5 separate regions of the Homo sapiens genome follow, and regions 1, 2, 3 and 5 are each linked to region 4. Evidence: promoter capture Hi-C in human tissues and cell types (Jung and others, 2019). All regions are on one chromosome and are shown on one strand. Each heading gives the region's core, a stretch centred on a gene start or on the middle of the fragment in contact. The rest is flanking DNA. Distances are from core to core; before and after follow the strand shown. Region 1 overlaps LOC107984174 (a long non-coding RNA gene). Region 2 has its middle 160 kb from the start of LYZL1. Region 3 has its middle 140 kb from the start of LYZL1. Region 4 holds the start of LYZL1 (lysozyme like 1). Region 5 has its middle 200 kb from the start of C10orf126.

Region 1 (5,653 bases), core at 509-3,008, 220 kb before region 4:
TAGAATGTTAAGGGGACCTAGAAAACTTTGATTATTGACATCACTCAACTTCATCCTTGAAGAATGAGAAAGAGCTCAGCCTCCCTGAAAGGAAGTGACTGTTTAGATAAGGATGAGCAAAACAGAGGTACTGTTAGCAAGAAAGAAATGGGGCAATGCATATTGGAGAGGGACCCTAGAGCATAGGTCTCAATGGCAAAGTCAGTAATAATTAAAATGAATCATCAAAAAAAAGGTGCAAGTGCCCTGCCTTGGATTTTCCGTAACTCAACACCTCTGGATTCAGATCTGATTTCAACTGGAATCCATGTCATGGTGTGGTCTCCCCCACATTGACTCATAACTATAAGCTGAGTTTTGGTGAAGTGAATCTAATTTTCCCTTTGATTTATTTTATGATAAGCTTTCCCCACATTTTCCTGTAGTCTGAATTTAAAACAGTTTGTAAGAGTGTGATTAAGCAATGGATCAAGTCCACAAAATATTGGGCGATATAACACTTCATCCTTCTGGAAGTGCTTTGTAACTGCAGACACTTTTCCTGACTCACTATCTGTCCTCCTTGGGTCGCCACTGTTGTTCAAACTCTGCAAATCTTTGAACTGTCTGACTCCATACTTATCATTTCTGCCCCTGCACTCTCATTCTCTTCTTTTGTCTGAGAGTGGAGAATGTCTGAGAGATTGCATCACAGTCACGTTAACCCTTGGTACTGCACAGCCTAACAGGATAAGAAAGGTTCAGTCTGGATAGGAACTAGAGCAATCAGACATCTATTCATATCTCAACGTCCTTTTGTCTGAAGGATTTTGGTTTTAGAAAATTAATTTGTGCTCTAATGTATCAACTTGGCAAGTTAGAAATCTGTAAACCAAGGTAAACAATATTTTTTGCTCTATAAAATCGTACACGTAGACACCACAGAGTGCAACTTGAAGAGTTAAAAAGTAAAACCCAGTGAGCAGCAAGCAAACTGCCTTTGCTCCCATTTGCCTTAGGGGAGAAAACTTTTCATGGTAGGGATTGCAAAACAACCAACTAAATAACTTTTACATGATTAATGGGGTGAAGGTTAGACTAAAATGTGATGTCTTCCCTCCAAAAATTAGGAAGATTTTAAAAACTCTTTCCTTTATTTAGTACAAGGAAGGCTGCAGTTTTCATTTTATTATTATTTATTTATTTACTTATTTATTTATTTTTGAGATGGAGTTTTGCTCTTGTTGCCCAGGCTGGAGTGCCAATGGCGCGATCTCTGCTCACTGCAACCTCTGCCTCCCGGGTTCAAGCGATTCTCCTGCCTCAGCCTCCTGAGTAGCTGGGATTACAGGCACGTGCCACCATGCCCAGCTAAAGTTTTTAGAAGGAAGAGTGTATTTGCTTTAGAAGAAAATGAATCTAGCCTGGCACAGTGGCTCACACCTGTAATCCCAGCAGTTTGGGAGGCCAAGGCAGGGCGATCGCTTGAGCCCAGGAGTTTGATACCAGCCTGGGCAACATGGTGAGACCCCATCTTTATAAAAAAACGCAGAAATTAGCCGGGCTTGGGGTCACACATGCCTGTAGTCCCAGCTACTTGGGAGGCTGAGGTGGGAGGATCACTTGAGCCCAGGGAGGTTGAGGCTGCAGTGAGCCATGACTGCACCACTGCACTCCAGCCTGGGATATAGAGTGAGACCTTGTCTCTAAATGAAATGAAATGAAATGAAATGAAATGAAATGAAATAAAATAAAATAAAATAAAATAAAATAAGGGAATCTCCAGAATTTCAGTATTTTAGCAGCAAATATCAGGAGTATTAGCCAAATCAATGAAAACTAGGATAAATAACATATGTTTAAATTTTAAGACAAAGTTTTGATTATGGGAATTAAGAAGTCTGTGCTACTAACATATCCTCTGTGATTATAGGAAGGCACATTAAGGTACAAACTCATATCAAAGGAGGAAATAGACAAGTATGGAACAGACATAAAGACAGTTACATAGATGAAGGAAATATTGGGATGTTGATGTAGGAAAAGAACATGGTCCAGGCCTTCTTGATGTATTTTGCAAAGGTTCATAACAAGCATGCTATGCCTTTCTATCATTTGTGGTTACTTAATAAATGGTACATAGTTCATTCTATACATGGTTCAGTTCTTCTAAACTAATTTTTTGTTCTTTATTTAAAAACAAAATTGTAAGTTTGAAAAAAAAAAAGTACAAGTCTTCCAGGGGTGCAGAAATGGGTTGAGGCAAATGATTTTTGTAGCTGAGAATCTGGACCCTCAAGTTGGCAAACAAGCTAGTTGACATCAGATTGGGTGTATACAGGGCCTGCTCTTGTTTGTTTCTGTTCCAAGGTTACACAGATGCACTTATAAACTGACCAAGTAGTGCAGAGGGAGGAGGCCCCCTTTTAAAGATCCTTTTAAAGAAACTGCTTCTATATTGATCCAATTTTTTTAAAAGTGAAGAAAGCGATTATACCTTGGCTGGGTGCAGTGGTTCACACCTGTAATCCCTATGCTTTGGGAGGCTGAAGCAGGAGGATCGCTTGAGTCCAGGAGTTCATTCAAGACCAGCTGGGGCAACATAACGAGACTTCATCTCTATAAATTTTTTTGAAAAAATATAAACAGGTGTGGTGACATGCTTCTGTAGTTCTAGTTATTCAGGAGGCTGAGGCAGGAGGATTACTTGAGCCCAGGAGTTTGAGGTTACAGTGAACTATGATTGTGCCATTGCACTCCAGCCTAGGTGGCAGAGCGATGGCCTGTCTCTAAAGAAAGAAAGAAGAAAACTGTTATACCTGTTTTTTTTTCTTGGGATCCTATGTTTGAATTCATTGCCAACATTTTCTTACCAGGTAGATATAAAGCTTTTACAAGGTTATTCATGGCTATTTGAATACATCCTTTATTTGTTTCTCTATTCCCCTGTCCATCTTCTTCAGTTACACACCCTTCTGATCTCTCTTCTGTCTTGAACCCATGAACCCATGATCCTTTGATGTCTCTCCTTGATCCATGTCCCCACTCCAGATTCCAGAAGCTCATGCTGCCCTTTCACTGATAAAATGTTCCTTTTCAATCTCAACACTGCCATTACCATCCAGACAAAATGAGAATCAAATTTGTAGGAATACAGATATGTAAAGCAGAGATTCTTGGGGAGTTAAAGGGACTTTAAAGACAAATGGCAAATGGGGCGATAACATTTCCAAGCAAAAGGTATTCTTATTATATGAAAAGTTAACACAAATTAGCAAGGATAAGATCGACAACTCAAGGAACAAGTGGGGAAAATCTCTGCCAAAAAGCAGAAAAATTCAATAAGTGTATAGTTAATACTTTCAAGCTCATTTTCAGTCAATGGAATGCAAATGAAAGAGTGACAGCATTTTTTACATATCAGAATGTCAAAGGCTGAAAAGGATTATAATTACTCATGCTGGCAAGAGTGTGATGAAATGAGCATGTCGGGGGCGGCTGTTGGGAGCCTACATGTGTACAAACTTAGCCTGGGGCATTATCAAAGCCTTCAACATGTTTCTGGTCTTTGAAGTAAGAACACTTCCAGGATTTTATCCTAAGGAAATAATTAGGGAAGCATGCAAAAACTTTTCTGTGCCGGGATGTTCTGTGCAATGTTATTTGTAATACTTGAAAAAATGGAATCATTAGCTGCACAATATTAGAAATCTAGTTAAATAATTTATTTTTATAAGAGAATCTAGTTATATAATTTATTTTATATAAAATCACATTGTCAGAGACTTCTTGATTTATGGGGCAGGATCACATTATATTAAGTGAAAATTGATGTGTTTTGTGACAGCGTGAGGTGCGAAAGGCAGAAATGGGTTTTAGAGTCAGATGACAGGTGTTTGAATTCCAACCTTTTCACTGATCGGCAAATTAACTTGGAAAAATTACTTAACCTTTCTGAATCTCAGTTTCCTCATCTGTAAAATGGGGATAATATGTTAACAGGCCTGTTGTAAGGTTTAATTAAGAGATTGTATGTAAAGTGCTTTGCCAAGGACCTAACATGTAGAAAACATTCAATAAATCAACAATGCTATTTAAGTCACCCAAATGTCACTGAGACTCATTAGGCTATCTGTAATATGTAAATGACTCTCATTAACATCAGTATCAATAAATTTATGTCCTTGCCCACCACTTGCTCACACAGGACCTCTGATGCAACTTGTAAAGTACACTCTCCTCTGAATATTTCAGGGAGGCCCCCAAGTACACCTAAATTAGTTTCTTATTTTCACCAATCAGCTTCTGCTACATTGTTTCTTGCAGATTTCAGCCATTATCACTCATTCATCTCTGTGTGTGAAATACCTATGATTAAGCAGCTCTGTGTTACCCAAATATACATTGATGCATCCTGGCCCATTTTCATGGATTTATACCTAGCTGAGGGGAAGAGAAAACAAATATTTACAAATGAATATATATATATATATATATATTGTATTGAGTGGGCTAGGCTCAGTTGTCTGGCGAGCCTAGGATTTCTGCTCCTATTTAAGTTGGGCTATTACAAAGCTGATGGGAGGGTCTGTGGCTGTTGGAGGAGCCTGTCACTGTGGGCTTCACTGTGGGAGGGTCTGCCTGAACAATAGCTGTATCTGTAAGTCTTTTCTTTTGGTCTGGTCAGATTCTGTTCTTCTATTTGGATGGCAAGTCTGGGCCTTAAAGCTGAATGTGTGAAGAAAGCTGTGGGTTTTTAACATTGAGAAGGGTTCCCCAGGTCTCAGCTGAATTTTTTTTTTTTTTTTTTTTTTTGAGACAGTCTCACTCTGTCTCCTAGGCTGGATACAGTGGCACAATTATGGCTCTCTGCAGCCTCAACCTCCCGGGTTCAGGTGATCCTCCCACCTCACAGCCTCCCGAGTAGCTGGGACCACAGGCAAGCACTGCCATGCCTGGCTAATTTTTGTATTTTTTTGTAGAGGTGGGGTCTTCGCTATGTTACCCAGGCTGGTCTTGAACTCCTGGGCTCAAGCCATCCTCCGGCCTTGGCCTCCCACAGTGTGTGAGCCATTGCCCCCTGTCCCCCAGGTCTCAAGTGATTTGATGTCCCTTCAACTTTCACTCCATGCAGAGAATAAACCTGCAGTGTTCCGCAGGATAGGAAAAAGACGGTTACTTAGCTGTATGTGATGAAAGAGGGAATCTGCTTTTGTGTCTTAACCACTTTTAACCAATTCTTATTTCAGTCTCTCCTTCACCCCCACTCCCAGAGGTACGTGGTGCTATCATTATCAGAGCCATTGTGGGGGCGTCTTCGGTGCAAATGTGGTTATCTTCATCTTTCTCAGCAGGAGCTGAGGGTTCAGCATTCTTTGGTCTTCGGAATCAATCTCCAGTCATTCTTTAACTTTTCCACATGCAAAGTTCAGTTGCTATCATCTCCTTTCCCAACCTTGTGACCCTTTAGAAAATTCCCTTCTGTCAGGCTAGGGGTGTTTTAGGAAGGAACAGAGTTAAATGTATATTTTTAATTCACTATCTTTAACCTGAAGTTTAGATCTTAAAGATTTTTGAAAAGTTGGTTGGCAGAGGTGGCTGGTGAGTTTCCAATGAGGGGGATTTTTGTTTGTTCCATTGCATATTTAACTGGAGAGGATATTCCAGAGCCTTC
Region 2 (5,579 bases), core at 2,560-5,059, 160 kb before region 4:
GATAAAAGGCATCTAAGAGGGCAGGTGACCCTCCCAGGGCCACAGGCACGTAAACCTCCATCATCCAGCAGTCGTTACTGGCACGGGGCAGATTGTCTAGTAAGACAAGTCCTTTCTATTTTCCACAGATCTTTTTTTTTTTTTTTTTTTTAGACGAGTCTTCTCTGTCGCCCAGGCTGGAGTGCAGTGGCGGGATCTTGGCTCACTGCAAGCTCCACCTCCCGGGTTCACGCCATTCTCCTGGCTCAGCCTCCCGAGTAGCTTGGACTACAGTCGCCTGCCACCACGCCCGGCTAATTTTTTGTATTTTTAGTAGAGACGGAGTTTCACCGTGTTAGCCAGGATGGTCTCGATCTCCTGACCTTGTGATCCACCTGTCTCAGCCTCCCAAAGTGCTGGGATTACAGGAATGAGCCACCACGCCCGGCCTATTTTCCACATATCTTAAAATACCTCAAGCGATTGTATTCACTATCTATTGCTGCATAAAATATTGCCCCAAAACTTTTTTGAAAAATATTTATTTTTTCTTTTCTTTCTTTCTTTCTTTCTTTCTTTCTTTCTTTCTTTCTTTCTTTCTTTCTTTCTTTCTTTCTTCTTTCTTTCTTTTTTTTTTAAGACAGGGGTCTCCCTCTGTTGCCCAGGCTGGAGTGCAATGGGACAATCATAGCTCACTGCAACCTCAATCTCTCAAGCTCAAGCGATCCTCCCAAGTAGCTGGTGCTATAGGCGCGTGCCACGACCCCCAGCTAATTTTTTAAATTTTTAGTAGAAATGAGGTCTCTCTGTGCTTCCCAGACTGGTCTTCAATTCCTGAGCTCAAGCAATTCTCCAGCCTCACCCTCCTAAAGTGCTAGAATTACAGGTGTGAGCCATTGTGCCTGGCACCTTCGTTTAAAAAAAAAAAATAGGGCTGGGCATGGTAGCTTATGCCTGTAATCCCAGCACTTTGGGAGGCCAAGGCAGGCAGATCACCCGAGGTCAGGAGTTCGAGACCAGCCTGGCCAACATGGGGAAACCTCGTCTCTACTAAAAATACAAAAATTAGCTGGGCATGGTGGTGGTGCCTGTAATCCCAGCTACTAGGGAGGCTGAGGCAGGAGAATTGCTTGAACCCAGGAGGCAGAGGTTGCAGTGAGCCGAGATCGTGCCACTGCACTCCAGCCTGGCGACAGAATGAGACTCCGTCTCAAAAAGAAAATAATAAAATAAAATAACAAAAAAACCCCACTTTCCTTCCCGTCATAGTATTGTCATGTATGTAGCTTTATGGTCTACTTCTTCACCTTATTCTGAGGATGACTTTAAAACAAGTCCTCGCATACAAGCAGTCTCTAAATGCATTTGCTGTTTAGGAAAACAATGTATCTAGATGGTCCCCTGGCAGAAGAGCTGCAGGAGGAGTAGCTGGGGTCCTGGTGGAAATGCAGAATTGCAGGTTCCACTCCAGACCCACTGATTCAGAATCTGCATTTTGACAAGGTTCCCTGGTGGTTAGTATGTGTGTTAAAGTTGAGAAGCTCTGTTCTAGGACTGTCATTGAAGAGCTGAGAATCACTTGTGTTTCTGAACTTTATGCCTGCATCCAAGCACACATGAGAATAATAAAATGAGATCTGTTTAATTACAATGAATTGTTTATTCATTGGAAATAACGGCCAGTCTTGCAGCTCGACATGATATTTGGGAATTTGGAGATCTGTTTTTCTCTGTGTCTCCCTGTCTCTCTGTCTCCCTCTCTCAATCTCTGTCTCTCCCTCTCTCTTTCTCTTCTCCAGCTCTCTCTCTCTTTCCATTTTTTCTCTATCTCTTTCACCTACATTGACTTTATCGTTTTACTTTTCTATGGAAATGTTGAAACACTTGAGACTTGTTTTTGTTTTTCCCCATCACTTGGAGCTGACCCCTTTCATCTTTGATTCAGCCAATTTCCTTCAAAGCTAAATATTAAACAGATCTGTCTTCTGACAGCTGACCCCAAATAGGGACGAGCAGTGGTCCTGGCCCCAGGGGTGGAGAACTGAGCCGACAAAGGTAGAGGAGAGACAGGATGGAGCCAGTTCCTGTCCGCCAGGGAAGCCCAAAAGTTGTGTCTAAGCCTACACACAGCCAAACAGCCAATAACCAAACAACCGATAGCTTCTGGAAGGCATTCTTGCAGAAATTCCTCTTTTGCCAGAGGGTGAAAGGGTTGCTAATTGATTTTGTCTGCCTTTCAGATGGACTCAGAGAGACACAAAAGTTTTAATTCTAACAGAGAGGTAACATTTTTAGATACTTCACTGTAGAAAAATATTCTGTGTCTCTCATGTGATCTGGAGTTGCATAATGGTATTTTTTGTTTCACCAGCTTGTTATCCTGTTAAGAGAATAGCAGCAGTAAATTTAATTACGTAGATCCTTTTCTAAACAACATATATTTCATAAACATATTATTTATTCATAACAAAGGAATAAAAGAAAGCTAACTCTTCCCAAATGCATTGAGAATCGCTGGTCTCGACTCTCACTGAAGAGATGGGTGAAGATTGCAGTCTTGTGATCTCTGGCCAAGAGATGCCACCTTGTGCCCTCTTTACCGCTTCTGGAGCTTGTGTCTCAGCACAATGTGCTATTGATCTCAAATCCCATATGCTGTATGTCAACAAGTGAAAACAGGGAAGAGACCAGATAGGGAGGTGTGAAAGGAAAATCTCTTGGGCTCCCCAAATCACTAAGCTAAAAGGAAAATTCAAGCTGGGAACTGCTCAGGGCAAACCTGCCTCCCATTCTAGGCAAGTCATCCCTCTGCTCACTGAGATAGATGCATATTCTGATCGCCTCCTTTGGAAAGGCTTATCAGAAACTCAAAAGAATGCAACCATTTGTCTCTCACCTACCTGTGACTCAAAAGCCCCCTCCTTGCTTCGAGTTGCCCCTGCCTTTGTGGACAGAACCAATGTACTTCTTACATACATTGATTAATGTCTCATATCTCCCTAAAATGTGTAAAACTAAACTGTGCTCTGACCACCTTGGGCACATGTCATCAGGACTTCCTGAGGCTGTGTCACCGGCGCAGGTCCTCAGTCTTGGCAAAATAAACTTTCTTTCTTTTTCTTTTTTTTTTTTTTTTGAGACAGAGTCTTGCTCTGTCGCCCAGGGTGGAGTGCAGTGGCATGATTTCAGCTCACTGCAACCTCCGCCTCCCAGGTTCAAGCAATTCACCCGCCTCAGCCTCCCAAGTAGCTGGGATTACAGGTGCGTGTCACCACTCCTAGATAATTTTTGTATTTTTAGTAGAAACGAGATTTCACCATGTTGGTCAGGCTGGTCTTGAACTCCTGACCTCAGGTGATCCATCCACCTCTGCCTCCCAAAGTGCTGGGATTACAGGCATGAGCCACTGCGCCCGGCCCAAAATAAACTGTCTAACTTAACTGGAGACCTGTCTGAAATTTTCAAAGTTCACAGAGGGAAAAAAGAGAAGTGACAGAATACAACTCTAGCCTTATCTTTTCATATCCATAGAGAAAGAGCTCTGTAATGTTATGCAAAATGGCAGAAATGCCAGTTTGTGAAAAGAGACAATTGTTTTAACACACACAAAAAAACCTCCTAGTCATTGGGAATGACCAGAGTTTTTAAGAGAAAAAAGTCACAGAAGTCAGAAAGTCTGCCTATAATCCTGAATCAAAAAATCTGGAGTCAGAATAAAAAGTTGGTCGGGAAGTATTTGCTTACGTAAAAGAAAAACTGTGAAAAACCTAGGAATTTGGGTTCGCAAAGTCTTCTTAAGCCCTGTGATTTCAGTTTTGTTCTTCCTTTCTTGTTATTCTGGATTAGAGTGTTATTCTTGTGATTTTTGAAAAATGAAAAATATGGCCTTATACTCTTGCCTAATACATGATTTCTGGAAATAAGAGGTGAAAAAGTGAGTTCATTTCTTCTTTAGCCCAACCCTAACCAAGTGTGAGCTAAGGAATTCTATATTTTATTTCTATTTATTTATTTTTAAGAGACAGCTTTGCTCTGTTGCCCAGGCTGGAGTGCAGTAGTGGAATCATAGCTCACTGTAACCTCGAACTCCTGGGCTCAAGTGATCCTCGTGCCCTAGCCTCCTGAGTAGCTGGGACTAGAGGTATGCACCACCATACCCGGTTAAATTTAAAAAGTTTTTTTTTTTTTGTAGAGACAGAGTCTGGCTACATTGACCAAGCTGTTCTCAAACTCTTAGCTTCAAAAAATCTTCCCACTTTGGCCTCCCAAAATACTTACAGATAGCTACACTCCTGGCCGGGAATTCTTAATATGTTTGTAACAGAAGGAAGGAAATTAGGGGCATATTGGGTTTTGTTGTTATAGTTTGTCTGTTTTTTTAATTTAAGCTATGCCATAGAGTTTTGTGGACACTATGAAACTTAGGATCATTACTATGTATTTAACAGAGTAAGTGTTCTAACAGCGCAGTGGAGAATAATATTAATAGTTGTGCACCTCATTTCTGGACAAATCTGACAATAAGCTCATTGGATGAGTAGCAAAATCATAATCTCAGAAATTTCTGAAACAGAAGAGCGTACTATCTTTTGGAGAATTAACTTCATTCAGAGCTTTCATTTACATTCTTCTTATGTTTTTATTTTGCCTTTATATATTCTTTTGTAATTTACATATTCCTGTACGATCCTAAAATCTTTCTGAAACAAGCAAGAATATAAATTTATTATTTTGATAAGTGTTAGAAATTAATTTTTACATTTTTTTTTAAGAGACGGAGTCTCACTCTGTTGCCCAGGCTGGAGTGCAGTGGCATGATCTCAGCTCACTGCAACCTCTGCCTCCTGGGTTATAGCAATTCTCCTGTCTCAGCCTCCCGAGTAGGGCGAGGCTAATTTTTTGTATTTTTTTTTTTTTTTTTTTTTTTTAGTTTCATCGTGTTGCCCAGGCTGGTCTCGAACTCCTGAGCTCAGGCGATCCACCTGCCTCGGCCTCCCAGAGTGCTACGATTTCAGGCGTGAGCCACCGCATCAGGCCAATTTTTACCTAATTTTTTAAAACACAAAGTTATTCTTGTAACCATTGGCATTATAACTGTTAGCAAAAAGCAAGGGCTCCTCCTAGTGATACTGCAAGTCAGTGCAGCGTACTAATTCCAGGTGTATTTGTTTTCTTTGTTGTGTAACAAGTTCATTATCTTTAGTAAACACACACTGGAAATCTGTTGAATTCAGGGATCAATAATGAAGATGTGTATTTTAGGGAAACTGCAGTAATTCCTTCAGGCCACTAGGGGCCATTTGACTAAATTCTCTTCCCAGTTCAAAGGAAAGGTCCCCAGTGCACCCCCAGGGAGCAAAAATAAGGACCTCCTCCCATCCTAAGGTGGGATATTCTAAGGGTAGAATCAGGTGCATCATACTCAGCAAATCAGTATTTCTCTAATTTTATTACTTTTTGAAACCTCTTTAAAAGGAAAAAATACATGTGAATTCCCCAGTATTGACATGGGAATGGATTACTGTACAATAGTGATGCATGTATAAAATGATTGCTCTGACCATAATTGTCAACAAAAGTCGGTAGAATGAAAATAAGAA
Region 3 (5,158 bases), core at 663-3,162, 140 kb before region 4:
GTCCAATGAGCAAGAAGCAGAAAATACCAAAGACATCCCCATCTGTATAGGCTTGGAAAATGTCACTGCATGTACCTGACCTTCCACTATTAAGGTAGCTGATTTATCCCTTAGCTAAAGTTGCTCTCTCTTCCTAAAAGATCTTGCTTGTTTTAACTTTGTGGCATTCATGTTGCTGTTCCAGTCCAATCCCAGGATAAACTTCTGAGGTTGCAATGCCAGTTTGGAGAGCAGGACAGCAGCAAATTCCAAGGGAAGCCCTGGGGTTATCGCAAGCTCCAGCCGCCTGAGTTAGGTCACGTTGCCAACTTCAACAGAGCTTGACCTCAAGCTGAACTCCGCATTGCCAGGCTGCAGAGAGCTAAGCCAAGCAGCTATAACAAGTACAGGCCTTCCCAGCCAAGCAGGAGCCCACCTAAAATAAACCTGTAACCTTTCCCCAGAAAATGTTGTGTTTGTTTATAAATAGCCTAACTGCGTAGCCCCTAGAGTTCACTCATGGGAGCAGGAAGAGTCAACTTGTGTTAAACCCTCAGAGCTTCTCAGGTACCCCCCAAACTCCAGGCCTGTACTCACCAAAAATGGATCATTCTCTTCTTGGACTTCCTAGAATCCCAAGACCCAGGGCAGAAAGGAGAATAGCTTCAATTTTCTAGCGGCTAGGAGGAATCTAACTCTATTTTCCCTATGGGTAACAAAGCGCCTGAGTTAAAGTTCGAGATTTGGTATAAAAATGATAGCCACCCTTACCACGTGCCAGGTACTAGCCCATGCATTGCACATAATAACACATTAGCAAACATCAACTCATTTAATCCTCAGAACAACCTTGTAGAAACACTTCTCAAGGCTATTTACAGTCAGCTCTATTCCCAGCTGGGAGAATTCCGGCACAGAAAGGGTGAGTAGCTTTCTCAGCTAACAGGCACTGGAGGCAAGAACTGATCCAGGTATTTTGAACACAGAATTTACACCGTTATATTCATTCTTTGCAAGCCTGGGTGATGGAGCAGAAGGGAATTGGTGTCAGGATCCTAAGTCAGATGTGCCAAGCCCAGGCATCTCCAAATCTTGAAGTCCACAGAAATGGGAGAAAATAGCAAAAGGCACTATAGGATGGATGGGGGTCTCAGCAGAATGAAGGCTAACAGAGCTTAGGAGGGGAGGATCTCCCCCTTCTTCCCCATCCTACCGCCACCCCCAGCCTGCAGGCAGAATTTGATTGTAAAGGAATTCCCATTCAGAGGCTTAGCCTTAATTAGGTTAAATTCCTGGTGACCAGCAATTCCAATCAATCTGACCAGAGAAACCAGCCCTTTCAGTGTGAAGAATACTCTCATCCTTTCCTACTGGCAGGCTGTGAATACTGGCTTCCACCCCAGGCACCCACCACCCACCCACAGGCTCTTTCACAGCAATGCACTAAGCTCTCTCTGCCTGGGCATTCCAGCAGCTGGGATGTTCTACTGGTTGGTGCTTCTCACATCTTCTGTACAAAGAGAGCTGATGTTCCTGAGATTACTTCAATGCCCTTCAAGATCCAGTGAATCCCCAATGCCTATCACAGATTCCATTTTCAATGTAATTTTCAGTTTGTGAGGTCATTTATTATATTTTAGATCTTCCAAAATTGGCATCATATATGACATAAACTAAGTGCAGTAGCCAGATTATTTTTTTAGCCACTCACCCACTAAACGGCTCACTCAAGTAGGAATAGCCCCCACTCAGGAATTAAAGCCTGAAGGATACTGCTTATCAAATTCCGGGACAATGATTCCAAGTATCACTGGGATCAACCAGCATTAGGTACCCACAGATAACAGTGCCTTAACACAGAATTTCTCAAACTTGAAGGTGTATACAAATAACCTGTGGACCTTGTTATCTTATTGCTGTGTTTTGTCGAGAGTTTTTGTATGTGATTACTATTTGAGACAGGATCTGGCTCTGTTGCCCAGGCTGGAATACAGTAGCACGATCATAGCTCATGGTGACTAAGGGCCTTGTTAGAATTCAGGTTCAGATTCAGTGGGTCTGGGGTGGGGCTGAGAATCAGAATTTCTTACAAGTCCCTGGGTGATGCTACGTGGGGAAACTATACTTTAAGGAGCAAGGCCTTGAAAAGTTCATTTATCTTGAGACTCTATGCTCCTGACTGATGTTGTACAAATTGATGCAACATAGAAACTTCCGGAGGGTGTGCTCCTTATTACGGACACCCGTGAAAGAAAGTGAATTTGTCCTGGGCTCTTTGGATGGGACGATCTTTTCAGATCTCAATGGTTTTAAGTTTTTTGACTCTGTGCTTTCCCTTTGCTCAGAAAATATTTCCTATGGGACTGTTTTTCTGTCTTAATATAAGCACCTCTACCTCAAAGGAACTCCTTGTCTCTGAGCTGAAGCTCAATAAAACTTTTTCAGGGCCCTGTGGTTTGGTTATTTCATGTCTTTACATGTGGGTTACAGGATTATGCTGAAAGGGGGGAGGTGAAACAAATGTCTACTCTATTGAAATTGGAACAACGATTGGAACAAGAATTTTAAGCTTTTTGAGGATGGCCACGTCGTCTAACCCCAAATGAACAAACGACGTGAGAGGCAATACAGCAGAGAAGCAAGACTTCAGGCTTTGCAGAAAGAGAGACCCTCATTCAAGTCCAAGTTCTGGAAGCCACAGGAGTTGTCACATGGGGCGAGTTTCCTAAACTTAGTTTCCTTACCCATAAGATAGGTGAAGCTGTCATGAGTAAAAGAGCACTGGCGAGACACGTGGCAAGACAGAGAAGGCAAAACTCATGTTTCCTCTTAACAAACCCTGGATGGATTCCATCAAAGCATCCTGAAACTAAAGGTTGTTAACTGCTGATGACGAGAATCTGACTGCTGGTGTCCTCCAGAAAGCTCCTTTATAGGAAGAAAGCAGAGACTCAGTTGTGGGCTCATTGAGCAGAATTGCATTTGGGTTTTCTCTGCCAGGCATCTCCATCCCTTTTTAGAATCACAGACAATCTGATACTGGTTGCATTCTGCAACATCCACTAGTAGGGATGGTTTATTGCACTGCATAGGAAAAACATTTAGAAGATAACTTTCAAATTTTGTTTTTTGGGAAAACAAAACCCAACATAGTTTTCTCTGTTTAAGTTTCTTGGCTGAGTGCTTATTACTTAGGATATGTTTCCTACTTGACTTTTTTTTTTCCTCTTTCAATATAAGTGTCTCTGCCTCAAGAAGATTGACACAGTTTCCTGCATCCACTCCTTCCTGTAATACCTCTCATCCAGCCATGAAGCAGGATGCTGGTGAAATTTTCACTCATCTTCCAATGCCACCCATCACATCCCACAATGGCAGTAAAAATGGTTGTGCCTTAAGAGCTTTTCTGCCCCAAAGTATACTCCAGATGACACTGAGCAGAAAGGTCTCCAAACGAAGGCCACCAGATCCTCTTACTTTGAAGGCAATTCTCAGCTCATGTCTCATAACCACTGTTGCGCCTTATTCTTGAAGCATCTTGATTTTAGGGGGCGGAAACATGAAACAGACACTTCCTGCTAGAATCCACTGAATAAGCGCTTCCTCAAACATTATTAGGTTGGTGCAAAAGTAATTGTGGTTTTTGCCATTACTTTCAGTGGAATAAAATAGTATATCAGCAAACCACTGCGGAGTCCTGTCTTAGTTTGTTTGGGCTGTTATAACAAAATACCATCAACTGGGTGCCTTGTAAACACCAGAAATGTCTTTCTCATAGTTCTGGAGGCTGGAGTCTGAATCAGGATGCCATCATGGCTGAGCTCTGGTGAGGATCTCCTTCTGGGTTGCAGACTGCTGACTTCTCGTACCCTCACATGGTGGGGAACAGAGAAGGGAGTCAAGCTCTCTCATGACCTTTATAAAAGCACTAATTCCATTCACAAGGGCTCATCCTTACAACCTCATTGAATCCTAATTACCTCCAAAGGTCCTCACCTCCTAATACCGTCACATTAGGTGGTAGGGTTTCAATGCAGAAATTTTGGGAGGACACAACGTTCTGTCCTTTTAAAAGGCACAAGTCCTTTTAAGATGCACATTCTGATACAGTAGATCTGGGGCAAGGCCTGAGATACTAAATTTGCAATCAAATCCCAGATGATACTGATGCTCTGGTCCACAGTCCAGCACGCTGTGAGTAGCAGCACACCAGCACTCTCTCGCCCAATTTAATTGCAAATACTCTAAGGCATCGCTCAAGACCTCTGTGCTTGTGTGTCTCCAACTAGCCAGAAACTTGTTGCACAGTTGTCAACTTTGATCTCCACTTCCTCTAGGTGCCTTGGGCCAGCCTGTTCTGAGTGTCTGAAGGCAGGTCATAACGACTTCACTGTAGTCACCCCAGTAAGAAGACACGGAAACAGGCTATCCTCAGCACAGCTCCCAGGACCAGCTGGATGCTTTGAACTCTAGAGGAGTAAGCCTGATCTCCACAGACCTGAGGATCATAGAATTTTAAAATGGAGAATAATATTAGAAGTAGTGTTATACAAAATCATTTTATAGGAAATCAGGTACAATACTAAGAATAATGAACATTTACTCAGCACTCACTCTATGTTCTTTAATCTTCACAACAGCCTCATGAGATAGGTATAATTATTATGCCCACTTTAAAGGGGATAAAACGGAGACTTGGAGTGGTTAAGTATCTTGCTCGGGAATCACTCATTGTATAAGTGATGCAAACCCAGCTTTGTTTGATTCCACCCTTGTGCTCCTAACTACGATTGAGCAAGGCTTTTAACCAAGAGAAATGGAGCAATTCCCTCTGCAGATACACTGTAATATCCGGGATTGGGATCTGTGTCACTGGACTTATAGTTCTTTCCCTTCTACAGTAAGACAGGTTTATCTTTTTTTTTTTTTTTTTTTTTTTAAACAGAGTTTCGCTCTTGTCGCCAGGCTGGAGTGCAATGGCTCGATCTCGGCTCACTGAAACCTCTGCCTTCCGGGTTCAAGCAATTCTCCAGCCTCAGCCTCCCAAGTAGCTGGGATTACAGGCGCATGCCACCACGCCGGGCTAATTTTTGTATTTTTAGTAGATACGGGGCTTCACCTTGTTGGCCAGGCTGGTCTCAAGCTCCTGACCTCAGGTGATCCACCTGCCTCAGCCTCG
Region 4 (5,357 bases), core at 1,689-4,188:
GAACTGTTTTCCATCCCTATAAATTTTGCCTTTTCCATAATGTCGTATATATGGAATTATATATAATACGTATATATAATAGTAATCTTTTGGGTCTGCCTTCTTTTATTTAGCAAAATGCATTTAAGATTCATCCTCATTGTTGCGGGAATCAAATAGCTCATTCCTTTCATTGCTGAGTAGTATTCCATTGTATGGATAGATCATAGTTTTTGAATATATTTGCCTGCTGAAGGTCATCTTTGTTGCTTCCAGTTTTCATTGATTATGAATAAAGCTGCTATAAACATGGGTTAGCTTGTTTTTGTGTGAATGTAAGTTTTTTATTCACTTGAATAAATACATAGGAGTATAATTGTCGGTTTATGTGATAAGTCCATGTTTAATTTTATGAGAAACTGACTAACTGTTTTCCAAAGTGACTGTACCATTTGTATTTCCACCAGTGATAAATTGGAGTTCTTACAGTTCTGTGTCTTCATCATTTGGTTTCATCTAATTGATTTTAGCAATTCTAATTAGTGAGAAGTGATATCTAATTGTGGTTTTATTTACTCTTTCCTGGTGACAATGATATTGATCATCTTTTCATATGCTTGTCATTTGTATATCTTCTTTGAAATGTCTGCTTAAATCATTTGCCCTTTTTTTAATTGGGTTATATGCTTGCTTATAGTTGAATTCTAAGAGTCCTTTATATATTCTGAATACAAGGCTTTCATCTCATCAGACATTGATTTGTAAATATTTCTTCCAATCTGTAGCTAATCTTTTCATTCCCTTAACAGTGTCTTTCAAAGAGCAAAAGTTTTAAATTTTGATCAAATCCAACTAATCAGTTTTTTTTTCTTCCTTTCATGGATTGTGCTTTTGATGTTATATCTAAAATTTCATTGCCAAACCCAAGGTCCTGCAGATTTTTTATATTTAACTTAAAGAATTTCATCGTTTCACACTTTTTACATTTAGGCTTTTGATCCATCTTGAATTAATTTTTGTATGAGATATAAGGTATGTATTCTTCAATATGCCTTATGCCTTGTTTTATTTTTGTTGTTTTCGTTGTTTTGCACATAGACAGTCTTATTTTAGTACCATGTGTTAAATGGAACATCATCTTTCCATTGAATTTAATTTGCATCTTTATAAAAAGCTACTTGACTACATATGTGTAACACTATTTCTAGGCTCTCTATTTTGTTACACTGTCCTATGTGTCTGTTTCCACAAATATCATCCTGTCTTGATTACTACAGCTTTATATTAAGTTCTAAAATCAAGCAATATGAGTCCTTCAATTTTATTATTCTTCTGAATAGTTTTGCCTACTCTAGTCCCTTTGCCTTTTCATATAAGTTTTAGGACCCTCTTATTGATATTTTCTAAACAATTTTTCTGGGAGTTTAAATGGGATTCCACTAAATCTATGTATTAAATCTTAATAATATTGACTCTTCAAATTCATGAATATGGTGTGTCTTTTTCATTTACTCAGGTCTTCTTTAATTTTCCGTCTGTCTTATAGTTGTCAGTATATATATCCTGCACATATTTTGTTAGGTTTAAATTTAAGTACTTCATTTGCATTTGTGTACTATTGTAAATGGATTTTTTTTTATTTCAAACTCTTATTTTCTATTCCTAGTATATAAGATTGTAAATGGCTTTTGTATATTTACGTCATATCTGAAAACTTGCTAAGCAAGCATTTTTGAAAAAGAAAAAGACAATCCGTCTCTATTTTCTCACTGGTAAGATCCCTATTTCAAAGCATTTTGAAAAAGATGTTTGAGGGAAAAACCTATACATTTTCTCATATTATAGACTGTTCACAAGAAGTCCACTAATGGCTTCTAAAGATAAAAAAGACCCTCAAGCAGCTTGAAATAACGAAAGTTGAAATTGAAACTCTGCTGAAAAATTATGTTTCATCTCTAATATTGAGAAATATTGAAACATTTGATAACACAGTGTGCTATCTTCCTGATACAAGCCCATGTGAAAGGCAATTTGGCAAATATCTAGCAAAATTACAAAATTATACCCTTTGATCCAGCAAGATATTCTTGTAAAGTTACAAATGACATATGTACAAAATTACTGGTTGTAATATGTTTACAATAGAAGAATAAAATAAGTGTGCATCAATATGAAATTGGCTAAGTATGCTATGTTGTATCTGTATAATGCAATACTATATGAACTTCAAAATAGATTTCAACAAAACCTTTGCATTATTGGCAGATGGAATTTAAGAAAATATAACGATTAGTTAGGTGCAGCCAACAATAAACTTCTACTTAGATCTACATATTCTAATGAGAATTCATTTCAAATGTGTCACTAAATCTGAACATTGAAATAAATAGACCTTGAAAACAGCCCTTTAGTTATTGATTCACAAAGTGTTAAGCCAAATTTTTCAAAAATAATAAAATCATGTTATTACAAAAATATTTTATTAATAATAATTTGACTATAGCAAATGTGCTGTTAATAAATTTTTAATGTTAATTTCACCTCTATGTCATTAATTTTCAAATTTTAGTTTTATGTATGTTGATAATTTATGTAGCATATTAGTACTGAGGTACAGAAGTATGATTTATAACTCAATGTACATCTAAAGAGGATACATGCTTAACTTTCTTTATTAATGGAATTTGTGATAAAGTTTGCAGACGCCTCAGAGAAGAGCTCTCACTTGGACAGGAGGCCCTGGCCAAGTTGTGTAATGAGGAGGGTTGTTGAGGGGAAAAGACAAAAAACAAGAGGTATTAAGCCCCAGAAGACAGTTATCACCTGCCTCAGAACACAAGCATGCAGGATGATACAGCTTTTAGTGCCAAGAAGTAGAATTCTAGCATCTCTAGGTGGTGAGAAACAAAGGATTAAGAATTTTTCTTTCTCTAACACTCTAAAGAAATGTTCTTGAGCTAGGAAAGGATTACTCGCGCCTCGTTAGAATCAGACATGGCTTCAGGGGATGCAGGACGCTCCCCTGAGCTGCCTGTCACCGACTAAGTGGAGCAGTGTTTCTTCCGCAGACTCAACTGAGAAGTCAGCCTCTGGGGCAGGCACCAGGAATCTGCCTTTTCAGTAAGACCTAAATTACTCTTATGAGAACCAGCAATGGCAGGTTCTTGAAGGATGTAGAACATGATGCTTGGGGTTATCATTGCTGCGGGTTTTCTTTGGACTTGTTTGAGATCAGTAAAATTCTAAGGCAGGGGATGGAAACCAACTCTATTTGTAAGCTCTGTATCTTTTTTTCTTTTTTCTTTTCTTTTTTTTTTTTTTTTTTAGACAGGGTCTCTCACTCTGCTGCCCAGGCTGGAGTGCAGTGTCACAATCATGGCTCACTATGGCCTCAAACTCCCAGCCTCAAGTGATCCTCCCACCTCAGCCTCCCCAGTAGCTGGGACCACAGGCACACACCACCATGCCTGGCTAATTTTTGTATATTTTGTAGAGGCAGGGTCTACCTTTGCTGCCCAGGCTAGTCTCAAACTCCTGGCTTCAAGCAATCTGCTCACCTCAGCCTCCCAAAGTGCTTGGATTACAGGTATCACCCACCATGCCTGGCCTTAGCTCTGCATCTTAAACCTCGTTTGTCTGTCCCTCACAGCTTAACACAGTGCTGTACACAGCGGACTGGCATGCTCTCTCTGAAAAGGGCCAGATAATAATATGTTAGGCTTTGTGGTCTATACGGCCTCAAACACAATTACTGAACTCTGCCACTGTAGTTGGAAATCAGCCACCAATGATATATTACCAAATGGGTGTAGCTATGTTTCAATAAAACTTTACATACAAAAGCGGGCCTGGTTTGCCCACGCTTGCTATTCACGTTTGTAATGTACATGCCCCTCATGCAATGCAGTTCCTTACCTTATTGCTTAGTCACCTTAAAGCCCTGCTTGTTACTTGGTGCGGTGGCCTTGCTGATGACTACTTATCCCTGTTTTGGGCCTAGCCTTTCAATGCAGGAATCCAGCCCCAGGGAGAGAAACTAATGACTGGAGAAGTTTCTAGGCAAGTGCAGAAAATGACACGGGATGAACATATGTAAGAACATCAAGTTCAGGATCCCGAGTAGTTGTCAGAAATTTCACTTCACCCCATCCCAGCAAGGCTGTTGTATTTGGGGAAGACATTATTTCAAGAGGGGAAGAGATTGTGGAAAATCAGTAGGCAGCAGGAGACAGCTCTCTTGATCCTACTCCCATTTCAGATGATTCCGCAGGGGTCTCTTTATTGCCCCTCTGCTCCCCCAGGTGCTTTCCTCCTTTCATGAGGCTTTGTCCTCCATCCCTCTTGCTCCCCAGTCAGGTGCCAGACTTTTAGGAGGCCCCCCGGAGCACTGGTGGTGAAGCTTAGCAAAGCAATGCATTTGCAATCTAAGATAAAACACTCATGTTTTGGGCTGGGCATGGTGGCTCACACCTGTTATCCCAGCACTTTGGGAGGCCGAGGTGGGCAGATCACAAGGTCAGGAGTTTGAAATGAGCCTGACCAACAGTGTGAAACCTCATCTATACTAGAAACACAAAAATTAGCCAGGTGTGGTGGTGGGCGCCTGTAATCCCAGCTACTCAGGAGGCTGAGGCAGGAGAATCGCTTGAACCTGGGAGGCAGAGTTTGGAGTGAGCCCAGATGGCGCCACTGCACTCCAGCCTGGACAACAGAGTGAGATTCCATCTCAAAAAATAAATAAATAAATAAAAGCACTGATACTTTGGAAGCAAAGCTCCCACATTTGGAACTGAATCAAGAAAAGAAAATGAAAGAGTAGGTGCTTAATCTTCACTCTTCGATAAACCCCCAAACAATAACCCTTAAAGTTTTCCATACAGGCCCACGTGTCTTTCATCTGTGGCTGAAATGGGCTGTCTGTTTCTACACATCCAGTTGATCCTTGAACAAATGTAGGGGTCACGGGCACCGACGCCTGCTCAGTTGAAAATCTGCATGTAACTTTTGACTCCCCAGAAACTTAACGACTCCATAGCCTACTGCTGACTGGAAGCCTTACTGATAACATAAATAGCCAATAAACACATATTTTTTATGTTCTATGTCTTCTGTACTGGATTCTTACAATAAAGTAAGCTAGAGAAATGAAATGTTATTCAGAAAAGAATAAGGAAGAGAAGATACATTTACTATTTGTTAAGTGGAAGTGGATCATCATAAAGGGCTTCATCCTGGTTGTCTTCACACTGAGCAGGCTGAGGTGGAGGAGGAAGAGGAGGGGTTGGTCTTGCTGTCTCGGGGTGGCAGAGGCAGAAGAAAATTCACGGATAAATGGACCCACGCAGTTCAAACCCATGTTGTTCAAGGGTCAGCAGTAT
Region 5 (5,944 bases), core at 718-3,217, 250 kb before region 4:
CCTTGAAAAGAGTACTTGAAGGCCAATCCATTACTATTCAAAGAAAAGTATCTTTAATGCAGAGATCTTTGTGCAGAATACCAGGCACCAGCTGGGCTCCATCTCCACCAGAGAACACACGACAAGAGGCAGTGGGGTCAAAAGGCAACATGAAGAATTTGTGTTAAGCATAATATGAATAGACAGTAAAAGTAAAGTCCATTTATGGGTGAAAGAATGTGACAAGTCACCCAGAGCCCAGGGCCTGGAGCCCAAATTTTTTTAAAAGGTTTATCCTGAATATACCTCTGTGGCTCTAGAAATGACCGAAATGTCATTTTAGTTCAATGAATAGTGATTGCTCTACCCCTTCTGACAATCTGGACCCCTGGGCAGTTATTCCACTCAGCCCTAGAGCCCTGGTCACCACAACTGTCTCTCAAGGAAGGTGCAAGAGAAAGCACAAGAGCAGGGTGTTGGTGGTAGTGGTAATGACACTGATGGAGACAGTGGAGGTGTTGATGGAGATGGTGGAGGTGCTGATGGAAATGATAGGGGTACTATTGGAGATGGTGGAGGTGCTGATGGAGACGGTGGAGGTACTGATGGAGGTGGAGGAGGTGCTGTTGGAGATGAAGGAGGTGCTGATGGAGATGGTGGAGAGGTTGATGGAGGTGGAGGAGGTACTGAAGGAGATGGAGGAGGTACTGATGGAGATGGTGGAGATGTTGATGGAGGTGGAGGAGGTGCTGATGGAGATGGTGGAGGTTCTGATGGAGATGGTGGGGGTACTCATGGAGATGGTGAAGGTGCTGATGGAGATGGAGGAGATGCTGATGGAGGTGGTGGAGGTGCTGATGGAGATGGTAGAGGTGCTGATGGAGATGGAGGAGGTCCTGATATGGATAGTGGAGGTACTGATAGAGATGGTGGAGGTGGTGATGGAGATGGTGGAGGTACTGACGGAGATGGTGGAGGTGCTGATTGAGATGGTCAAGGTGCTGATGGAGACGGTGGAGGTTCTGATGGAGTACCAATACAATACAAAGAGTGCCAATTAAAGGGCAGAACTTCATTTTGACAAAGGATGTGGGAAAACTTCAGGGTTGGCATTGGGTTGATGTCACTTCCTTTCTCCATGCCTCAGAGGGTTTGTGTGTGTGTTTATGTAGAAGAGGAAGATATTTATAAAGCTCGTTGCCCATTTTGCAGAGTCATCTTCATTAATTTCAGAGTATGTGTGAGGGAGGCCCATAGCTCAAGTTTGACCTTTTAATCTTCATTCTTGGCTTGTTGGGGATTAAAGATAGACTAGGCTTAACACCAATAGTACCTGCCCTTAACAGGGTTTCTGAGAAGCAAAGTCATTGACGACAGAGTCTCCATATGGTAATGCTACTTCCTCCTTCCAGAAGTTTCACAGAAGCTTTCCTTTCTGACAATGAAAAATAAAATCACCTCAGACATCAGAAATACTTGGCCTTTTATTTTCGTTTTCTCACTTGAAACAGAACCTGAGATACCTTGTTGGACTCAGAGTTCTCCTTGAGTGTGACATTAGGGACTAAGAAAATAAGCAGCAGCTTGATTTTTTAAAGTATAGTTGCCACTGCTGACAGAAGTCAAATTATAACACCAGAAAAGTCTGGTTTTGATTCCTGCCATCTTCCTGGGAGAGTGGGTGGCTTGGTTGATAAAGCTGCACTCTCACTTCTGGAATTGGATTGGGTTCCCAAGCGTAAACACGTCTGCATTTAATTTGGATCTGCTTGTGTATTCCAGTAAGAAACGGGGCTTAACATATGCACTGTAGCTCTGGCTGAAGGGCATTTTAACTGGTTATGGGTCTCCTAAGACACAGGGATTTTAAGCCATTGCTTTTCAAATGTGCAGTCTGATTGTGCACATGCTAAAGGGAGGGGCGGGAGCAGCAGTGCGGGAGATGGCATGTCACACACAGTCATAATAATCGAGCTACATCTAGCCAGATAACGCTCTCTTTGCTTACAAATCTAGGAAATAAGCCAGAAACTTACCAAAGAATAGGAGTGATTACTGATACTGACTAACTAAAAAAATGTCTCCTTCCTCTTCGTTTCTGTTTCTGCCAGATGAAGACAAGGGGATTTATATTCAGAAGTGGCTGTTTCTAGAGGACTCAAAATCTTAGTGTAAACTAATGAAATTCATCATATGAACAGAACTAAGAAGAAAAGTAACATGATTATCTCCAATAATGTTTTAAAAACATGCTTGGCAAGATTTATCGACCATCCATGTTAAAACATAAGAATTGAGAGAAATTTCTTAGCATGATGAAATATGTATATTAATACCTCAGCTCTTGCAGTGAGCCAAGATAGCACCACTGCACTCCAGCCTGGGCAACAGAGCAAGATTCCATCTCAAAAACAAAACAGAACAAAACAAAACAAACAAACAAACAAACAAACAAAAGTCAGTCCAAAGCCTGCATCTTACTTAGTGGGGAAACACCAGAGGCTTTTCCACTAAGTCAGTAACAAGACAAGAGTGGCCACTCTCTCCATTACTATTTAACTCTATGCTGAAGTTATTAGCTAATGCAATTGGATAACAGAAGGCAATTAGAGACACAAATTGAAGAGGAAGAGGTAAAACTATTCCTATTTGTAGATGATATTATTATGTATCTGGAAAACCCAAAAGAATTAATGGAAAATCCACTCTAAAAACTTTAGTACATAGGTAAGGTATAAAATTCACCTACAGAAATCAAAGTTACATGTGTATACACACACATGCATAACTAGTTAGAAAAAGTAATAGAGAATACACCACATTTAAAGTAGCAGAAATACAATACAACTAGACTTAAACTGAATAAGGAATTAGTATTGTTGTAAAACTATTACATATCAATTGCAGGAGAAAGCAGATTAGTCATTTTGTTAGTATTATTACTGCAAATAAAAGAACAGCCCAGTAATGATGAGCACCTCTTGAGCCCAGATTATGAACTCTAATAACCATTTCTTCCTAGGAGGAGGAAAGGTTGATTTTCTGTCTGGGGTTAGCAATATACAACTTGTGCTCAGTGCATCTTATATTATTTATCAAAACCTACTAGAATTGTGTCAAGAGGATATGGGAGAAAATGTGCATAGGAGCCAACTTGAAGGGGCTCTCACTGGCCAAAGACGGCATAATTAGAGAGCCAAGAAGAATAATGACTGCAAAAAAGGAAAGATATCAAATATATAAGAACCCATGTGTTATAACAATACTCTAAAAATGAAACTCATTGATTACCTTTGGAGGTTGTTAAGACAGTAATTTATTATTCTAAAATTTGTATCAGAAAAAAATTGAATATTTATCTTGCCTTTCCTGTAAGGGCTATATTTCAGAACAAATACACAGTTGACAGAAGACATTTCTTCCTTAGAGAAAAATTACTGTGAACAAATGAAGAAGGGCTGATAGAATTTTTAAAAAATCACAATTGTGCAACTGTAATGAAATAATAGATCTAACCAACAATCAGCAATAACAGCTAAGCCATTAAGTGAAATATCAAGGGACAAGTTTCATAATAAATGGGTTTGCTGGCACCTGAACCCACTGATGTATCCTAACATCACTACAGTTGGGAAAGCCAACCATTATGTGCATTCTGATGTGAAGCATTAAGAAGTGCCCAGCACCATCTATGGGACATTTTTTTCTAAACTTTGACCCCAATGTAGCCAAGCCTTTGAATCTAACTTACAGGTTAGCAACATTATGGAGGGTAGAAGAACATGAGCAACAATACCATGAGGAAAAGGGAAACTTCTATTGCACAAATGATCCAGTTTCTTCTACAAAGAAATGGCATGGGAATAAAAGAAAGAGAGACTATTATAGATTTAAAAAGACTTACCAGACATAAGATCAAGTGAAATGTGTATATGTATATTTTTTAAGACAGGGGTTTCCTTCCCGTTCCCAAGGCTGGGGTGCAGTGGTGTGATCTTGGCACACTGCAGCCTTGACTTCCTGAGTTCAAGTGATCCTGACACCTCACACTCCTGAGTAGCTGGGACTACAGGTGTGCAACACTATGCCCTTTTTTGTAATTTTAGTACAGACGGAGTTTCACCATGTTGCACAGGCTGAGCAATGTGCATTTTTATTTGGATTATGATTTGAATAAATCAATTGTAAAAAGATATTTTTAGACAACCAGGAAAACCGGAGTATGACATTATTGAGTAACTACTGTTAATTTTGTGGAGTGTGACAATGGTGTTATAAGGATATGTTTTAGTCTTTATTTGTGAAAGGTAAATATGAAAATATTTATGAGAATTATATAATAAGTGGGATTAATTTAAAATAAAACAACAAAGTTGTGTCAGGAAAAGAGATTCGGATGAAGCAGGTAGAACAGAGCATACATGTATTGAAAGACTGGGCCACAAGAATTCATTATACCATTTTCTCTATTTTTCTCTCTACCTTTGTTGTGTTTGGATATTTACATGTAATTTTCTTTTTTCTTTTTCTTTTTTTTTTTTTTTTTTGCCAGGTGTGGTGGCTCAAGGCTGCAATCCTATATTCTTAGCACTTTGGGAGGCCAAGGCAGGAGAATCTCTCGAGACCAGGGGCTCAAGACCCATCTTGGCAAGACCCGTCTCACAAAAATTAAAAAAAAAATTAGCTGCGTGTGGTGGTGTATGCCTGTAGTCTCAGCTCTCTTGGAGGTTGAGGTGGGAGGACTGCTTGAGCCCAGGAGCTTGAGGCTGCAGTGAGCTATGATCGCACAACTGCACTCCAGCCTAGGCAATAGAGTAAGACCCTGTCTCTTAAAAATAACCCAAAAAACCAAGAAATTTAAAAACATTAATCTTGCTGTCAAAAAGGGACAATATGAAAACACCATGTAACATTTTAAGTGAAAGCTAGAAAGTAAGAATAAAGAATTATATCATCTAAATTCAAGAAAGGAAAAGACTGACTGTTCTTTGGCCATAGTCCCAATCTATGAACAAGTCATCTCCAAAATTGCTTTTAAACTCTTACCAATCATCACTAACACTTCACTTCAGTACTCATATTTCTGAAAGTCCACTAGTCAGAACAGCCTCAGTCCATCAAAAAGGCTTTCACAGCTAAAGATCAACCAATCCCCCAACACTTCAATTTCCAAGAGTTTGCCAATCTCTGAACTCCATGCTTCCCAAAACCCTGTGTTAGAATCCCAGTTTGCTTTATTCAAAGGCACTGTAACTCATAAGTACAGCTCTCCCTGGCAGCAAGAAATACAATCTGGTCTTTGTTTTGGATAATGAGTGGTGGGCTCTTCTTTTAGAATAAATGTACCAAAAGAAATTTTAAAAGTCTGATAAAGACAACAAGACCAAATTTTGGGGCCTTGAACCTGCATTTGTAATCAGCTTAAGTTGCACTGGCCTTTTGAAAGCAAATTCTTGGTGAGGCTCAGCCATTGAATACAAATCCCATCTTGCCCTTCCCCAAACAGGGAAAATCAACACAATAAATAAAATTTTGCACTACTAAAGAAGGATTAGGAAGAAGAAGGAGAGAGCAAAGTAGTGTTTGATAAAGACACTACTTAGGTATGACTTGTGGACTTTGTAGTTCATCTTCCATCCTGAAATAAACTGATAATTAATACACGTTTCAAAGAAGCATCTACTTTTCTTTTTTGAGACAGAGTCTCGCTCTGTCATCCAGGTTGGATGGAGTGCAGTGGTGCGATCTTAGCTTACTGTAACCTCCGCCTCCCAGGTTCAAGTGATTCTTGTGTCCCAGCCTCCCCAGTAGATGGGACCACCGGTGTGTGCCACCATGCCTGGATAATTTTTTTTTGTACTTTTAGTAGAGATGGGGTTTCGCCATGTTGGCCAGTCTAGTCTTGAACTCCTAGCCTCAAGTGATCCTCCTGTCTTGACCTCCCAAGGTGCTGGAATTACAGGCG

What was found. The method cuts DNA at HindIII sites, captures the fragments that hold promoters and counts their contacts. A contact is called where the count stands out against the background at its distance.
Region 1: a contact is called between a fragment that was not itself captured here and the fragment with the promoter of LYZL1 in region 4, in 3 of the 25 tissues and cell types used here (heart right ventricle, mesendoderm cells and thymus).
Region 2: a contact is called between a fragment that was not itself captured here and the fragment with the promoter of LYZL1 in region 4, in 4 of the 25 tissues and cell types used here (heart left ventricle, mesenchymal stem cells, mesendoderm cells and 1 more).
Region 3: a fragment that was not itself captured here is called in contact with the fragment with the promoter of LYZL1 in region 4 in 2 of the 25 tissues and cell types used here (bladder and mesenchymal stem cells).
Region 5: a fragment that was not itself captured here is called in contact with the fragment with the promoter of LYZL1 in region 4 in 2 of the 25 tissues and cell types used here (bladder and mesenchymal stem cells).

The regions. Positions count from the first base shown.
Region 1 is chr10:29,063,888-29,069,540 of GRCh38, forward strand. All of the region lies in intron 2 of LOC107984174 (a long non-coding RNA gene), which reads left to right. Among named protein-coding and RNA genes, the nearest start is that of C10orf126, 220 kb to the left of the region's middle. The HindIII fragment of the contact is 6,112 bases long and covers 1-4,814 here.
Region 2 is chr10:29,125,158-29,130,736 of GRCh38, forward strand. No RefSeq gene overlaps it. Among named protein-coding and RNA genes, the nearest start is that of LYZL1, 160 kb to the right of the region's middle. The HindIII fragment of the contact is 6,825 bases long and covers 398-5,579 here.
Region 3 is chr10:29,149,892-29,155,049 of GRCh38, forward strand. No RefSeq gene overlaps it. Among named protein-coding and RNA genes, the nearest start is that of LYZL1, 140 kb to the right of the region's middle. The HindIII fragment of the contact is 6,554 bases long and covers 1-5,158 here.
Region 4 is chr10:29,286,132-29,291,488 of GRCh38, forward strand. LYZL1 (lysozyme like 1) reads left to right here and starts at 2,939. Exons shown (of 5, transcript NM_032517.6): 1 at 2,939-3,099. The HindIII fragment of the contact is 13,518 bases long and covers 1-5,355 here.
Region 5 is chr10:29,039,985-29,045,928 of GRCh38, forward strand. No RefSeq gene overlaps it. Among named protein-coding and RNA genes, the nearest start is that of C10orf126, 200 kb to the left of the region's middle. The HindIII fragment of the contact is 6,348 bases long and covers 1-5,141 here.